2 separate regions of the Homo sapiens genome follow, and region 2 is linked to region 1. Evidence: promoter capture Hi-C in 16 types of primary human blood cells and fetal thymus (Javierre and others, 2016). All regions are on one chromosome and are shown on one strand. Each heading gives the region's core, a stretch centred on a gene start or on the middle of the fragment in contact. The rest is flanking DNA. Distances are from core to core; before and after follow the strand shown. Region 1 holds the start of OR4D6 (olfactory receptor family 4 subfamily D member 6). Region 2 has its middle 11 kb from the start of DTX4.

Region 1 (2,700 bases), core at 48-2,547:
CAGCATTGATCACATTTCATTCTTTTGACAAACTTGTGAGCAAGTAATGATATTTCCATATTACTGGTGCTAAAAGTGAGATAAGTGTTGGTATGAGTCACAGGTAACACCAAAAAGCATTTAGGGTATTGATTTCAACCTTATACCCTCTTCTTCTCCTGAGTCCACAAGCTCGATAGCTCACATTGTTTAATCTCATTTCTTCTTTTTGTTTGTATACTCCCGCTAATAGAATCGAGCGGCTATGAAGATATACAATGAAGTAGTGGAAGAAGAGCTAGCGACCTGTTACTCTTAGGCTAGCATTTTGAGAAAACTAAGTCAGACAGACTTCCACTCTCCATCTGACTGCTCACCCCCATTTTCTGCTCTCGGAAGGCCCAAGTCTCCTCTGCAGCCTCTGCATGGCTGACTTCATCTCTTGATTTCTCAGGGAATAGATGATGGGGTTCAGCATGGGGGTAATGACCGTGTTATTAATGGATATGGTTGTGTCCATGGGCAGCGTCATGAAGGGCCGGCAGTAGATGTAAACACAAGGCACGAAGTGAAGAGTCACCACCAGCATGTGGGACGTGCACGTGGAGAGGGCCTTGTTCCGCCCCTCCCCAGAGTGGGATCTCAGCATCACCAGAATGACAGTGTAGGAGCCCAGGAGCAGGAGGAACCAGAGCAGGGTCACCAGTCCGTTGTTAGAGATCATGAAAAGCTCCAAAGCAAAGGTGTCAGTGCAGGCCAGTTTTACCACCTGGAGCACATAACAGTAGAAGGCATCCAGTGTGTTGGGGCCACAGAAGGGGAATGGAAGCATCAGAATTACCTGGATGATTGAATGCAAACCACCACTCACCCAAGAAGCCACCACCAAGGCCACCCACACCTCTTTCCTCATCATGGTCACATAGTGCAGGGGCTTGGCGATTGCAAGGTATCTGTCATAGGCCATCACAGAGAGGAAAAAAATATCTGCCCCACCAGCAAAGTGGAAGAAAAAGATCTGTGCCATGCAGTCATTGTAGGAGATGGTTTTCCTGTCTGATAAAAGATCCACCAGGAACTTGGGGACGGTGATAGATGAAAAAACGATGTCCAGGACTGATTTGTTCCGCAGGAGAAAGTACATAGGAGTGTGTAGGCGGGACTCACAGGTAATAGTGACCACAATGAGTGCATTTCCCAGGACTGTTGCTACATACACAGCAAAGAAGACCACAAACAAGAAAAACTCCAGCTCTCGGGAACGTGTAAGTTCCAGGAAGAAAAACTCCTTCACATTAGTGTGGTTGATCTGGTCCATGATGGGGATGACTCTCTTCCAGGTCCTACCTTTGATGAAGATATGTTAGAACTTGGATTATGGTGACATGAGGTGGCAAAATCATTGATCACATACTGCTCTCAAGCATCCAGGTCATCATGACTACACAGAAAAACTGGGCCAGTCTTCTCTTTGTGGTCTGGAAATTCTTCTTTCATATGGTTCTTCTTTCTTATTGTAAATACCTTGGGTTAACAGGAAAAAACCATCACATGTCTGTATCCTCACTCTGACCAGAGAGAGATGGATGGACTATGGCCATTTGCCTATGCTTTACCAAGGGCTTTCACCTGCAATAGCTCATACTGATTTCAATTCTCATGAAGTTTCTGAAGAGTCTTTAGTATGGTTATCTCCATTTTATATACGGGGAAACTGAAGCTTTACAGCAGTTAATGACTTACATCTGCATAGTCGCAAAATTAGTGAATTGTAAATTGAGGATTCAAATACAAATCAATCTCCTGACTTGAGAAAGATTCCCTCCTTGACCAAATGTTGGTTAGGCTCCTCTGAGCCCTTTTCTTGACTATGACTCAACCTTGACCTTCTGTGTCTGTCTTTGCTGAGCCCAATTTTAACAGGAATCTTGCCAAGTCAGTTTAATGAGAATTCCACACCCTTGAAATCTAATCAAATTCCTCACCCCTTACCCTTTTATATATTTATTATTTTTAACCTCATCCCTCACCCTCAATATCTAAGTCCTTGGCCAGTCTTTAGCAAGAATTCTTTTATGCCAGTTTAGCAAGAACCACCCTACCTTTGATATCACTTCTTAGTAATTTTCAATCCACTGACCTCCCTCACTCTGCTCATTGCTTATAAATCTTCACTTGTTTTCACTATATTTCGAGTTGAGCTCAATCTTTTTCTTCTATTGCAAGAGTTTTAAATGAAATCTATCTTCCTGTCTTTAATAATTGTCTGGTGAATAATTTTTCTTTAACATAACAGTCTCCAGAGGTTTTTCCACTGTACAACTCTGAGAAATCAGAGAGTCTGGGGCTTACTTTGGCTTACCGGAATTCTAGTGTGTATATAAGGCTTAAACAGTTTATTAAGTAGTTTGACTACCTAATCCTTATCTCATCCCTTATAAAAAGAGAAGGGTCAGGCCCTCATAAGTACTCCTCTTTGGCACTCTGGGAAGCCTGGACCTTGCTATTGACACACAGGGCTCTTTGTATAGAGCCACAGTCATTGTTCAGGGCATGTTTTAGTATCACAGAAAAACTGATCATTAGAGCGTCACAGGACTTCAGAGATAAATTAGTCTAATGTTTCTTACTTTAGAAGTGACTAGAGAAGGACATTTATTTTTTTCAGAATCAGAGTTTGAATTGGTGAAATATAGAGAACTGTAAACAGGTTTGTTGACT
Region 2 (2,783 bases), core at 109-2,608, 300 kb after region 1:
ATATGATCTATCTTTGTATTCACTCTGTGGGTGCTTGAAAAGAATGTGTACTCTACTGTTGGATGAAGTGTTCTATAAATGACCAGTAGACCCTGTTGGTTTATCATGTTGTTCCGTTCTTCCATATCCAGGCTGATTTTCTGTATAGTTGTTCTATAAGTTGTTGAGAGAGGAGGATGTTGAGTTCTCTAACTATAATTGTGGATTTGCCTATTATCCTTTTAGTTATATCAGGATTTGCTTAACATATTTTGTCACTTTGTTGTTTTGTGCTTGCACACCTGTAATTACTGTGTCTTTTAGGTGATCAATCCTTTTATTATTATATAATAGCACTCTCTGTCTCTGGTAATTTTCTCTGATCTGAAGTCTATTTTATTTAATATTTATAGTGGTGGACTTGGACCACACATTATCAGCACCACTTCTGGAGGATCTGGAGACTAAGGTCAGCCATATCTACATGAATAGCCCCCAGTAAAAACCCTGACACTGAAGCTCAGGTGAGCTTCCCTGGCTGATGATACTTCATGTGTATTGTCACACATTGTGGCTGGGAGAAATAGCACTATCTATACAACTCCACTGGGAAGAGACAGCTGGGGCATAAATCTGAAAAGACTGAACAAGCTCTATATGAAGAAAACTACAAAATTCCGATAAATGAAATCAAAGAATGACTAAATACATGGAGAGATAGTCAATGTACATTTATAGAAAGGCTCAGTATTGTCAAGTTATCAGTTCTTCCCAACTTGTTCTACAGATTCATTGCAAATGCAATCAAAATCTCAGCAAGTTAGTTTGGATGGGAAGGAGGGAAATTGCTCAAATAAATGGTATTTTTTCACTTTCAAATTCCAGTTGGTACAATGCACAGCTGGAATTTGAGAGATAATTCTCTCAAATAAATAAAATAATAAATAAAGGGAGAATTTATTTTATTTGGAATTTCGGAGAGAATTCTCATTTTTCTCACAGCAATTGATTTAGGGGATGTAACTGATTTTTACTCTCTCCCTTCTCTGGTGTCCATTCTATATCAGCCTCAGCCTCAGGTAATGCTTCTCCTAGTATTGGTGTCTTACCTGGTGGCAGGACCCAAATCTTCATTTCTGAGGGGTCTGAGACCCTGGCTGCCATGCTATTTTCAAGCTATGGTGGTGTAATTGTCTGTTTACTATCAAATTTGGTCAAGTAGGGTCCAAATGGATCATGTGAGTGGCAAACACATTTCTCCCTGCCCTTACTGTGTCACATAAGCACTTCCTCCTCCTGAAGAACTGGGTTAATTGCCTGAGCCCAGGCAATGACTCTTCTTGCATACTGGTCTCTGGATACAAAGTCTTTGCAGTGACAGGCAGAAGCTATAGCTTAGAGTTCAGCAGGACTCTTTCCGTGTCCCCTGGCAGAAGTGTGCCCCCACAGGGAATCAGGACCTTTCATCCTACAGAGCCCTGACCTGGGGGCTGGCAGGGGCATGGATGGCAGAGGGAGAGACAGGAAGCACAAATTCCCTAAGTGTGTTATTAGGGATACAGATAAAGCTAAGCAGGGCCCTTCCTGCCTCTACCCTTTGTTTCCCAGGCTGATGTATAGGCCTACATAGGTCAGATACCTGACATGGGTCTCGCTGGACTAAAATCAAGGTATCATTATGGCTCAGTTCTCTTCTGGAAGGTTTAGAAGAGAATCTGTTTCCTTGCCTTTTCTTTCTCCTAGAGCTCACTCACATTTCTTGGTTCATGACCCCTTCCCCCATCTTCAAAGCCAGCAGTGTTGCATCTCTCTGTGCCTCTTTCATGGTCACGTTTCCCTCTGAATCTCTGATTCTCCCTTTTCTCACCTTTAAGAATCATCGTGCTTACATCAGGCTATCCAGATATCCAAGATAACCTTGCTATCTTAAACTTAGATGATTAGCGGTCTTAATTCCCTTTTCCCATATAACCTACATGGTCATATTCCAGGGATTATGGTGTGAACATCTTTGGGAGCCTGCTCCACACATTTGTCATACAACTCACTTGTGGTCTCCTTTCCTGCTCATGCTGCACAATGCTAGGCATTCCAACTCCATCATACGAGAGACTGGTTTTTTGGCCACACTTGACATTATGACTTGATAATTCTGATAGAACTCACTAAAAAATGGCGAGATTTGGATGCAGAGTCACTTAATGTCTCATGGTTAGGTGCTCCCTACCAGGGCCCAAAAGGTATATTCAAACAGTATATAATTCAAAAGGAGTTGTTATTCAAAAGATATATAACTATCCACTGCAAAAAACACGGGCTTTCTCCAGAACCCCAAAACTTTGCCTTGTAATTTTCCCACTTGGGCTTGCTATCAACTCCACATGGTATCTTTTCCCACATCTGATACCAGAGGGTCAGCCAGGGCACATGGTCCAAGCAGCTGTACTGTTTTCACTATAGCTTGGATCTTCTGGGACCCTTTCCTAATCCAGACCCCACTCAAGGCTGGCAGCCTATAGCATCCCCTGTAAATTGGCTGAAACAGTATACCCATGCATGGAATATGCTACCTTCAGAACCCAAAGAGATTTATCAGGCAGTGTACTTTCTTTTTCTTCATGGGGTATGCAAGATTCAATAATTCATCCTTTTCTTTGGATGGGTGGTCTTAGCATGCCCCTGATTTAGGGGGCCTCTGATTCCTCACGGGGTTTATTTCCTGTCACCTGAAATGCATGTGTACCGGCACCTCCAAGGTAGTTGATTACTTCTTGCCATCTGGCCTAATTAGCATGTTAACATCG

The links. Contacts are between HindIII fragments. The CHiCAGO score rates a contact against its expected background, and 5 or more counts as called.
Region 2: a contact is called between a fragment that was not itself captured here and the fragment with the promoter of OR4D6 in region 1, in 2 of 17 cell types (M1 macrophages and M0 macrophages). The highest score is 5.8, in M1 macrophages.

What each region holds. Positions count from the first base shown.
Region 1 is chr11:59,455,558-59,458,257 of GRCh38, reverse strand. It overlaps OR4D6 (olfactory receptor family 4 subfamily D member 6), which reads right to left and starts at 1,297. Exons shown (of 1, transcript NM_001004708.1): 1 at 353-1,297. The coding sequence starts at 1,297. The coding sequence ends at 353. The HindIII fragment of the contact is 6,869 bases long and covers 1-1,701 here.
Region 2 is chr11:59,159,735-59,162,517 of GRCh38, reverse strand. No RefSeq gene overlaps it. Among named protein-coding and RNA genes, the nearest start is that of DTX4, 11 kb to the left of the region's middle. The HindIII fragment of the contact is 6,486 bases long and covers 1-2,783 here.